Regions from separate parts of the Homo sapiens genome. Here regions 1 and 3 are each linked to region 2. The links are contacts of gene promoters, found by promoter capture Hi-C in blood cells and fetal thymus (Javierre and others, 2016). All regions are on one chromosome and are shown on one strand. Each heading gives the region's core, a stretch centred on a gene start or on the middle of the fragment in contact. The rest is flanking DNA. Distances are from core to core; before and after follow the strand shown.

Region 1 (4,094 bases), core at 843-3,342, 300 kb before region 2:
CAGCCGTGCCAGGTTCCCCTGCTCTCCCCTCTCCAGGGGGCCCTGGCAGGCCTGGTTCCCCCTTCAGGCCCGGCAGGCCTTGGGGCCCAATAGGGCCAGCTGGACCCTGGAGTCCTGGGATTCCTGAGGGACCCCTCAGGCCAGGCTGCCCAGGGAGCCCCAAGTCACCTTTCTGCCCCAGGGCTCCTGCCACCCCTGGTCCTCCAGGGCGACCCGTGAAACCCGGCTCACCCTTGGGCCCAGTTGGTCCAGGGGGTCCATGGGCCCCAGGAAGTCCCCTCTCACCTGGGACCCCTGGTTTCCCAGCCAGGCCACTAGGCCCCTGGTCACCTCGAATGCCAGGCACTCCTGGGGGTCCTCCAGGCCCTGCCTCACCCTTAGGCCCAGGGGGCCCACGTCTGCCAGGAAGCCCTGCAGACCCAGGAAGTCCAGGGGGACCCCCAAGACCCTGTGGGCCCTGCTCCCCTGGCTCCCCATCCTCCCCTGGCTCACCCCTGTCCCCCAAGAGTCCTGGGACCCCAGCTGGGCCCCTGTCCCCCTTGGGGCCTGGCAGTCCTGGCATCCCATAGCCAGTGGGGCCTATCAGCCCAGGGGGGCCCCGGGTCCCTGGCTCCCCTTTGGCCCCTGATGGGCCCTGTGGTCCTGGCAACCCTGCTGCCCCTGGGACTCCCACACCGTCTACTCCAGGAGGTCCTTTTGGGCCCACAGCTCCTGGCTCCCCCCTGGGGCCTGGAACTCCAGGAGGCCCAGACTCACCCTTGTCTCCTGGGGCCCCAGGAAGCCCATCCAAACCAGGTTTGCCTAAGCCAGCTGGACCAGGGAGGCCGGGGGGGCCGGGGGCACCCCCCTGCCCTGGGGCCCCAGGCAGCCCGGGCTGGCCCACTCCATTATCCCCCTTGAGGCCTCGATCACCTGGGGGCCCAGGCTCCCCCTGGGGCCCTGGTTCCCCCTGGAATCCTGGGGGCCCTGGCACCCCTTGGGCACCTGGTTTTCCAGGGATAGTAATGCCTGAGGGGCCCGGGAGGCCAGGGGGTCCTGGGGGTCCCCGGAGGCCCTGGTCCCCTCGTATTCCTGGCTCCCCCCGAAGCCCCGGCTGCCCTGGTGGCCCGACCTTGCCAGGGAGCCCTGGGGGACCAGCCTTGCCCATCCGGGAGAAGCCAGGGGGCCCAGCAGGGCCAGGCTGCCCATGGAGTCCTGGCTTTCCCATGCCTGGTTTTCCTGGGAAGCCAGGGGGGCCAGGGGGACCCCGAGGCCCGGGCTTCCCAGGGGGGCCGGGCTCTCCCTTCAGGTCCATCGGCAGCAGCGGTAGAGGCATTTCTGAGAAAGAAAGAGAAAGGGGCAGTCAGGGGCCTGAACTGTGGGGACAGGGGACCCCATCTACCCATTCCCCCATTCCAGTATGAGGTACACGGGAGAGGAAGAATGGGGCTGCCCCTTCCTGCTCTCATGGAAGATGGGGTTTGGGGGTGGCCCAGGGGACATCTTGGGGGCAACAGGGTGTCCTCCTTAAGGGCTCCTAACACCCAACCTACCTAGGCTGGGCCTCCTCCATGAGCCTGGCTGATTCTCACCTCTCATCCCTGCATGACCTGAAGGTGGAGTGGCCACCAGGTGGCACCAGCAGCCCACCTTAGAGCCCGTGGGAGCAGAGCCCCACCTCCCAACTTCCCAGTTCATCTCCCCCTTGGAAGACCACCTGTGCCAGCTAACTGCACCGTTTCCAGGCCCTCTGGGGTATTAGGAAAAACACTGAAGGTAGGAAAATTGGTGGGGAATGAGGAGCTGTGGAGGGCGCCTGAGGATCTGATGGCTCTCAGGGAGGCAGGGGATTTGGGGGCTGGGAGCGATTTGAGGCACTGTGGGGTGAGGAGGCTCTCACCCAGGTACTGGCCTTTGCCCTCACGGAAGGGCGGTCCCACAGGTCCTTTCTGCATGGGCTGGATGTACTTCACTGGGGCATAGCCCGCCGCCCCACCGGCCCCGCCACCAGAGGACGCCCGCGGCCCACACCCCAGCACCAGCACCAGTAGCAGCAGCAGCAGCGAAGACAGGGGTGTCAGAGTCCCCAGCATGGCGTCCGTGGACGTGCTGCAAAGAAGAACAGAGAAAGTCATCAAGCCAGCCCTGGGTGGTTTGGCACTAGGCCCGGGGTCACCAAAAGATCAGAATTTAGAGATTACACTGGAGATTTCAGTCAAAAGGCTGAGAAGCAATTCCGAATTTAGATATTATTCACAAGCAATTTTCAAAGTCGCGGGGGTCTGCATAAGCCACCTCCTAAACTTCTTCAGACCCTGCCTGTGGCTGTTCATCACCCCCACCATCTCCGAGAGCCCAGCCTCCCCAGGACAGCAGCCTCCTCAAAACCAGCCAGTCACTCTCTGCAGCCGGGCGTGCCTTTTAGAGCAGTCTGACCTCCCCTGCTAAAAACTCTTGGATGTCAACACCCATTTCCATTGCTGGGCCAGCTCTCTGCCAGGCACTAGGCTGAGCTCTTTAGGGACATGAATTCACTTAATGCTCAGAACACTTTAACAAGTTATTATTATTGTCATCTCCATTTTCCAGATGATAAAACTAAAGCAAAAGTCTTGAGGAAGCCAGAGATGGGATTTGTCTTAGGTCTGTCTGACTGCACCTTCTGCTGATGCCCTTCTGGACTCCCTGCCACTCGCCTTTGGGATCAAGTCTATGGCGCTTAGCATAGCATTCAAGGCTTTTTTTTTTTTTTTTTTTTTTTTTTTTTTGAGACAGTTTTGCTCGCCCAGTGCAATGTGCAATGGCGCCATCCTGGCTCACTGCAAAATCTGCCTCCCGGGTTCAAGCGATTCTCGTGCCTTAGCCTCCCAAGTAGCTGGAATTATAGGTGTGTGCCACCACGCCTGGCTAATTCTTGTATTTTTAGTAGAGATGGAGTTTCGCCATGTTGGCCAGGCTGGTCTCGAACTCCTGACCTCAGGTGATCCGGCTGCCTCAGCCTCCCAAAGTGTTAGGATTACAGGCATGAGCCACCGCGCCCGGCCTGCATTCAAGGCCTTTCTAACCTACTCTGTGCCTGTGTCTCCAACTCTATTGCCTGCTATCCCTTTCTCTGCCCCTCACCTCCCCACACCTCCACCCAGTAAACCAGAACTTGAAGTTCCCAGGCACCGGGCACCTTAACACTTCTGGCCTTTGCGCCTGCTATTTCTCTGCCTGCAATGTTATTTTCCTCCTCTACTCATCTTTTATGGCCCTGGGAGGCTGTCATCCCTTCCTCTATAAAGCCTCATTTCTTTGTGCCCTGACCTATGCCTGTCACAGCATTTGGCTCAACTCAGAGAACAAAGCCTGGGTGAGGAAGAAGCACAGGCTCTGGAACCAGCCAGGCAGCCTTCCCCTTCCCCTTCCCAGCTGTGGGAGCCTGGGCAGGAGGTCTCCTCATCCATGAAATGAGAGAGGATGTCCACACAATAACCTATATGTGAATGTTCATAATAGCGATATTCACAGCAGCCAAAAGTAGAGACAACGCAAATGTCCATGGACAAATAAAATGTGGTATCGCCATACAATGGAATATTACTCGGCAATGAAAATGAATGAAGTACAGGCTGGGCATGGTGGTGTATACCTGTAGTCCCAGCTACTCAGGAGGCTGAGGTGGGAGGATCACTTGAGCCCTGAGTTTAAAACCAGCCTGGGCAACATAGCAAAACCCCAAATTTAAAAATATATCTATAAATAGGCTAAGCACAGCAGCTCACGCCTGTAATCTCAGTACTTTGGGAGGCAGAGGTGGGTGAATTGTCTGAGCCCAGGAGTTTGAGACCAGCCTGGGCAACCTGGTGAAACCCCATCTCTACAAAACAAACAAACAAAAAATTAGCTGGGTGTGGGCGTGCTGTGGTCCCAGCTACTCAGGAGGCTGAAGAGGGAGGATCACTTGAGCTCAGGAGGTGGAGGTTGCAGTGAGCTGCACTCCAGCCTGGGTGACAGAGGGAGACCTGGTCTCAAAATATATATATATAAAAGGAAGGAAGTCCTGACACCTGCTACAACACAGATGAATCTTGAAAACAGTGAAAAGTGAGATATGGAATGTACATGTTGTG
Region 2 (4,048 bases), core at 1,414-3,913:
GAATTTAGAGAAACAATAATTATAAAGGAAGATCACTGTCCTTGTTGGTCAATTATAAATTATATGATTATCTACATTGAGAATGCAAGACAAATTATTAGGACTAACAACAAAAGTCTGTATCATTCCTAATAATACATTAATTTTAAAAAATCAATAACTTTAAAAAAAGAAAAATATGGCTAGGAGAGGTAACTTGCCCAAGGTCACAGTAAATAAGTGGAATTGCTGGAATTCAAATCCGTAGCCACAGGCCGGGCGTGGTGGCTCCCCGCTGTAATCCCAGCACTTTGGGAGGCCAAGGTGGGTGGATCACTGGGGCTAGGAATTCAAGACCAGCCTGGCCAATATGGTGAAACCCCATCTCTACTAAAAATACAAAAATTAGTCGGGCATGGTGGTGAGCACCTATAATCACAGCTGCTCCGGAGGTTGAGGCAGGAGAATCGCTTGAATCCGGGAGGTGGAGGCTGCAGTGAGCCAAGATCACGCCACTGCACTCCAGCCTGGGTAACAGAGAGACTCTGTCTCAAAAAAAAAAAAAAAGAAAATCCATAGCCGTCTGGCTCCAAACCTCACACCAGGTGTGCATTAGAATCATCTGGTGAGTTTTTAACCCAACCTCCCCACCCCAGAGATTCTGATTCGTTTGGTTAGAGGGGTGGGCCCAGGTATCCTATTTTGTAAAAGCTCCCGGCTGGGCGCGGTGGCTCACGCCTGTAATCCCAGCACTTTGGGAGACCGAGGCGGGCGGATCATGAGGTCAGGAGATCAAGACCATCCTGGCTAACATGGTGAAACCCCCATCTCTACTAAAAATACAAAAAAATTAGCCAGGCGTGGTGGCGGGCGCCTGTAGTCCCAGCTACTCGGGGGGCTGAGGCAGGAGAATGGCGTGAACCTGGGAGACAGAGCTTGCAGTGAGCTGCAAGTGGAGTGCCACTGCACTCCAGCCTGGGCAGCAGAGTGACTCCATCTCAAAAAAAAAAAAAAAAAAAAAAAAAAGAAAGCTCCCCAGATAACTCCAAAGTGCTGAGGGGTACTGGTTAGAAATGCGCAATCTCAGGTCTCTCCCCAAGCCTGTTCTGAGATAAAATCCACTCCTTCACTGAGTGGCTCACTGCCATCTTCCACGCTGGCTGGAAACAGACTGCATTTTAACATGACCCCCTACGTGAATTAGATACACGTTAAGGTTTGAGAATCATTGGTTGACACCAGTAGTTCTCAAACATTAGTGTGTATCAGAATCATCTGAGGGGCTTGTTAACTCAGCTTGCTGGGCCCCACTCCCAGTTTGACTCAGGTCTGAGGTGAGGCCCAGAGATAAAGTCATTTTGAACATGTTCCCAGGTGATGCTGATGCTGCTGGTCAGGGGCCCACACTCTGGGAACTATTGGTCTACACCATGCAGCTGTTATGTAAGTAGAAATTAAGGTAATGAGGCCGGGTGCAAGGGCTCACGCCTGTAATCCCAGGATTTTGGGAGGCCAAGGCGAGTGGATCACCTGAGGTCAGGAGTTCAAGACCCGCCTGGCCAACATGGTGAAACCCAGTATCTACCAAAAATACAAAAATTACCTGGGCATGGGCGCACCTGTAATCTCAGCTACTTGGGAGGCTGAAGCAGGAGAATCGCTTGAACCCAGGAGGCAGAGGTTACAGTGAGCCAAGATTGTGCCACTGCACACCAGCCTGGGTGACACAGCGAGACTCTCAGAAAAAAAAAAAGAAAATAAATCTGGATAATGAATTGGGGAAAAAAACCCCCAACCGGTATTATATAAGGTACATAGGTTTTGAAGGTAGAGAAACCTAGGTTGGAATCCCCACTCCACCCCTAATTATGAAAACCTAGAAAAGTTAATGTCTCTGAACCTGTTTCCACATTTATTAAACTACAGGAGAAACAAAGCTACCAGAATCACACTCCACTAAAGGTACTCTCCTTTGATTTCAACATGCCCTGATAATGTATTAGTGCACTATGTCTTACCTATCCCTTATTTTCAGACCTGAGTTAAAGGGGGTGGAACGCTCTCTCTTTACGACCTCACTCAGCATCCCGTCCAGGGCTGTGCATTGTGGCACTGAGCGTGGCAAGCCAGACTAGGCCAGTGACGAGGGGGCCTGGGAGCTAGGTCCCTGGGCATGGCCTAACGACCAGCCACCCGGCTGCAGCCTGATGAATCTGCGATCAAGCAAAGGTATGGGGCTGCTGCTGCGACTGCAAAGAGCAGTCACCGGACCTCGAGTCAGGCCCGGGTTCTAGAACAGGCTTTGCCACCTCCTAGGAGGGCGATCACTTAGCAAACCACTTAGCTTCTCCAAGCTAGCTAAGCTACCGGTAAAACGGGATGAGCACCGCTTACTCAGAGCAGCGGGAGCGGGTCTGGGGAAAGGAGCTATACTCGGTAAATGGGGAAGAAAACGCTTCCTGGGCTCCGGCACCTCCTTCCGGAGGTCCTGGCATCCCCCGCATTCCGCCCCGGGGCTCCCTGCACCGCCGACCCGGACCCACCACGCGACATTCCTTCCGCTTTCCCCGTCTGGGTCGCCGCCGAAGCTAGCGGGCGCCTGGACTGGCTGCCTCCCGCCGGCTGCAGCAGGACGGAGAAACCATGCCGGCGACCGGGCCGCTCTGTCCTCCGGGCGCAGAGTGCGTCAGTGCTCTGCAAGTCACCGCGTCACGGAGAAACTACAATCCCCAGAATGCTTCGCGGCGCGGGGCTCGTGCTCCGCAAATCCCGGCCTGCGTCATTGGAGTCTCTTTCACTAGAGTCGTTCATTCATTCCGCACGCATTCATTGAACCGGCGACCTGGGCCAGGCTCCTTCCCAGGCTCCGGCATGGAGCAGTGACCAAGATCAAGTGGCTCCCTGAGCTGATGGCGCTGCAGGGGAGAGAGTCTTAAGAAAACAAAGAAGAAAAATAGGGAAAAATTTCTTCAGAAGATTAAAGGTGTGATGTGATGGTGACAAGGTGGTCTTTTATTGGATTGTCAGGGGTGCCCTGAGAAGGTGACATTTGAGTTGAGATTAGTGACATGAAGCCAAGCTTGTGAAAACTATGGGAGGAGCATTGCAATTAGCGGGAACAGTTTGTTAAGTAAAATTTATAGGAGGCAGGGCCGGGTGCAGAGGCCCACACCTGTAATCCCAGCACTTTGGAGGACAAGGCGGAAGGATCACTGGAGCCCAGGAGTTCGAGACCAGTCTGGGCAACAATGGGGAGACCCTGTCTCTACAAAAAATAGAAAAAATTAGCCCACCGTGGTGGCGTACACCTCTGGTCCCACCTACTTGGGAGGCTGAGGCAGGAGAATTGCTTGAATCCAGGAAGTGGAGGCTGCAGTGAGCTCAGAAAGTAACACTTCATTCCAGCCTGGGCAACAGAGCAAGACTCCGTCTCAAAAAAAAAAAAAAATTGGAGGCCATTGGTTTGAACAGGGCTCCTGCACCAAGCCCAACAGAACCAAAATGGAGTCACTCATGCTAAAGTTCTACATCACCAAGTGGAAACTAAGTTGTTTATCTGATATTCCGATAAATCAGAAGAGTGAGAGATAGCTAGATCTCCAAACCATCCTGTTTTAGCTGGCAGGATAAGGAAGTCCCCTCTGCTTTAGCCTTCAAAGTTACAAGGAAAGTAACTTTGAAACAACCAATCTTTTTGTTTTCTGTTTCTGCTTTCCTCAGCCCTTTTCTGGCTGTAAAACCAATCTCCTCTGCTCAGCTCATTTGAACACTCATTCCATTTTATAGAATGAAGTGTTGCCCGATTCTAGAGTTGCAAATAAAAGTCAGATTTAACAAATTTGGCAAAAAAAAGTCAAATCACCAATTAAAAGTTAAATTTTTTCTTTTCACAGTTCATGCAAAGAACCTGGGGGAAATGACCTTGACAATTTAGGAACACAGGAAAGGCCAGGGAAGCTGGGGAGAGTGGTATAACAAGAGGCCAGAGAGGAAGCAGGAACCAGAGCATATAGGGCTTTGTGAGCCAAGGTAAGGAGTTTAGATTTCATGGTTAGGAGTGCAGCCTCCG
Region 3 (3,595 bases), core at 442-2,941, 340 kb before region 2:
GCTGCTATATTTATTTAAGTAGATTCTGACAGTTACTGCACTAAACAGTAAGGAGATAAGCAGGATTCAAGGCTAGTGTTAGACCCTTTTTTTTCCTAAGAGTAAGGACACGGAATATCAAAGTAACAAAGGGTGCTGCCATTTTAGTTTCAATTTAATATCAGGATATTCTTTGTTTTAGAAATGTAGATTTTGACTTTTACAGTTTGAAAAAGGGTACCTCAGCCTCTTCAGTACTGGTTTTTTGGCACATTTCAACAGAAATATTAGATTCCCTTTCTTTTTCTTAATAGTGATCTTCTAACAAGTTTCTTGGAAAAACTATCATTCTAAGGGAAATCCCTGTTTATAACCTATTAATATATTTCTATTCCTAGAAGAGAGTCTAGCAGGGATTCTAGTAGGAATTACTGAGTGTTTTGGAAGGCACTTGATAGAGGCATCTCTGCTTTCCAGCACAGGGATTCTCAGCCTTCTAAAGATCTAGACCAGTTTCCAAGCTAGCTTCTCCACAGCCCACCACTGCCTAGTGTTTGCTTGTGTATTCTCTAATGGATTTTAGGAGGATAGGCCTTCTGACAGAGTCATGAAAGACTGAAGGCATGTCTAGGGAAATAAAACCTGACTTGCCCTTCAGCAGGAATGACTGGCAGCGGATCTCTGTGTTCAAGGAAAGGGTGAGCGCTAAGCATGCCAGTGATGGATCCGAAGTATTTAGATGGATTGCAGACCAGGAATTAGAGACCGTTTGTGACTCAAGGAACTTGATGGATCTGTTTAGAGCCCTACATGAATTTGCCAAGGGCAGTGATTTTTATGAAATTCAAGAAGCAAACGACTTCGATACAGCTAGAATATGTTGCAGTCTTCCTATTTCAAACTTGATTTTAATATTTTTACCAAGAAGTTTAACTGACAACTCTGCAAAATTTTCATTCAGTATCATTAAACCTGAGTTAAATGTTTGCTTAGCTTATCCTCTTAGATGTTCTTCTGTTGAACAGGCAGGTTGCCCTTAACAGTAACTTGCTACTTAAATTACCTTTTATTAGTTAGTCAAGCTGCAAAAATATCATTAGTGTGGCGTCTTTATTTTGGCTTTATCCATATGAAGTATTCATTATTTTCATTCTTTTTGAGAATTCATAAATGTCTTAAAGCTTCAGTAAGAATTGTTGGGAGGTTTGACATCAAGTAACGCCTTCCTGTGTAGCAGTATAACCCTAATTTAGAACTCTTGTTTTCCTATTTCAGTCCTCATATTTGATCATAGAAAAGCACTTTTGTGATTCTATAGGAGTCAAAAAATCAGCCAAGAGTAGGTAAGTCAGTCAGCACAGAAATCAGAAAGTGAGAATTTTCTCCAAAAAATCTTTTTAAAAAAGTCCTGCTTATACTAAGAACATTCTTGATCCGTTGCAGTGTTAGAAATGACACTGTGATTAGTGAAAGCCAAGCTGAGTCCCAGGAAGCAGGGAGGGGGAGTGTGTGTGTGTGTATATGTATGAGTGTGTATATATATAATCTCACACACACACACAAAGGGAAAAATTATTTTGACTTTTTTCCTACTTTTAAAATGGTACATTTAAGTTTATAATTTTCCATGTCAGTCAACATAATTTTTTAAACTAAGGTATAATGGTCAAGGCTTGTGCTAATATTACCTACTACTCATTGAAATTTATATTACTTTACCCATCAAAACTAGTACTCCAGATGTTTACATCATTGATTAAATCTCAAGAATCTTTTGTTCTTAAAATATGGAAGTTAAAGATTTTAATTTGAATTAAAGATAGAAGGATGGTAAATTCAATATAGAGGGTTGAGATTTACCAGTGAGAAACCCTGTTGAAGTATCAGGTAAATGGTGTGACAAAATTAGAATCCTGTCAAATCACCTATCCAGCCATCGGGGTCCCTTCCTTTTTTAGACTAATTTCTAAGGTAACCAGAATCTAATGTATCTATGTTAGGGTCTCAGTAAAGCAAAGACGTTTGTCAGGGCGTAGACTCTTGAGTTAAATTTTTTAATCATTTTTTAAAGCAAGGCGGTTCTTAGAAAGTGCCTTTTCAGAAGATGGTGCTGTAGATTTTTATTTTTCAAGTAGCACGAAGCTAAGAATTTTAAAGATAAATTATTTTAGAACTCCAAGAGTGTGACAGTTTCATAAAAATAATGTTAGTTGTTGTCTTGAATCTCGTCCAAGGGAACCAAGGAAAGCTTTTATGCAGTAAAGTATCTAGGTAAATGCTCACCAAATTTATTTTGTAAATTTGAAAACAAAATATTTAGTAGAATTACCTCTTTTAATTCCCAACTGTGTTGGAGGAAATCCATAATGCACATAAAACAGCAAACCTACTTAACTTTTTAACAAGATTATGGGTATAGTACCAATGTCCAAAGGGAAATGTAACTTGCCTGGAATCATAGGCAACATTTTCTAATTAATCTTTTTTTTTTTTTTTTTTTTTGAGACAAAGTCTTGCTCTGTCACCTAGGCTGGAGTGCAGTGGCTCAATCTCAGCTTACTGCAAACTCCGCCTCCCGGGTTCAAGTGATTCTCGTGCCTCAGCCTCCCAAGTAGCTGGGATTACAGGCATGCACCACCACACCCGGCCCTAATTAGTCATTATTAAGGAGGACTGCTCATAAAGGCAGTACCAAATCATCATTCAGATCAGCTTAAGTGAGAAAGCAAAATGATAATCTCTATTGTTAGAGAAATTTTCTTTTCTAGACACCAAGGAATATTTTAAATGATTTTTTATTTTTTCTAGGATGCAGGAACTATGAAAAATGATGACAAGGCATTTAAAAGGGTATGATCAGTTAAATAGAAGTAGGGTCTGCAAATTGTGCTTAAGGGGAAATAAGCAAAAGAAAGGAAAATAGTAGAACCTTTCATACTAATTAGAAATGTAGTTACCTACCAGAGGGCAATTTTGCTCCATACCAGGAAGCAGTAAATAGCAGTAAATGATCACCTAGGCACTTCTTTCCTGTGAATTTGGTGAGCATTCTTCCAGAAAAGAAGACTAAAAGCAAACAACAACAACAACAAAAAATACCACACCTCAGTAACCTTGTATGCTGCATTATATAATAATGATAGTAAAATTATATTGTTTGGAGTGTACTGTGTCTGTTTGCAAATATACATGCACATTAAACTTTTTTGTTTTTATAATGTCTTAATAGCAATTATGAGTTTATTTTTGTTAAGATTAATTTTTCTATTGTGATGTTTATATTTATTGGCAATTTGTATGCAACTTTTATATTTTGCTTGTCGGTTTTAAGGTATTTTATTTTTATAGATATTTCTAGCTTTCCTCATTCTTTGTAATAGCAGCAAAGATTAAGATGGAGTGTTAATATACCAACCAAACTACGAATTCCATAAACTCTAGAGTTTGGATTTTTACCAATAAACCATTAACACTATTTTGTAACTTAGAATATTTAATGTTGTTTATATAGTGGGCATTAAAGACAGTCTTTAGACAGATTTCTACATGTGGAGGGGAGGTGGGGCTTTCCTGTAAGTTTGATCCTTTTTTTCCCCTTTAGTAGCAAACTAACATA

Evidence for each region. Contacts are between HindIII fragments. The CHiCAGO score rates a contact against its expected background, and 5 or more counts as called.
Region 1: a contact is called between a fragment that was not itself captured here and the fragment with the promoter of LSM10 in region 2, in 11 of 17 cell types (fetal thymus, naive CD4 T cells, total B cells and 8 more). The highest score is 8.9, in fetal thymus.
Region 3: a fragment that was not itself captured here is called in contact with the fragment with the promoter of LSM10 in region 2 in 1 of 17 cell types (neutrophils); the score reaches 5.1 in neutrophils.

The regions. Positions count from the first base shown.
Region 1 is chr1:36,098,171-36,102,264 of GRCh38, forward strand. It overlaps COL8A2 (collagen type VIII alpha 2 chain), which reads right to left. Exons shown (of 4, transcript NM_005202.4): 3 at 1,880-2,088; 4 at 1-1,317. The coding sequence starts at 2,072. Among named protein-coding and RNA genes, the nearest start is that of ADPRS, 11 kb to the left of the region's middle. RefSeq lists a silencer at 1,893-2,022. The HindIII fragment of the contact is 9,742 bases long and covers 1-4,094 here.
Region 2 is chr1:36,395,245-36,399,292 of GRCh38, forward strand. LSM10 (LSM10, U7 small nuclear RNA associated) reads right to left here and starts at 2,664. Exons shown (of 2, transcript NM_032881.3): 1 at 2,523-2,664. RefSeq lists enhancers at 1,809-2,521, 2,522-3,233. The HindIII fragment of the contact is 5,014 bases long and covers 1-3,056 here.
Region 3 is chr1:36,059,700-36,063,294 of GRCh38, forward strand. AGO3 (argonaute RISC catalytic component 3) reads left to right here. Exons shown (of 19, transcript NM_024852.4): 19 at 1-3,595. Among named protein-coding and RNA genes, the nearest start is that of TEKT2, 23 kb to the right of the region's middle. The HindIII fragment of the contact is 1,067 bases long and covers 1,159-2,225 here.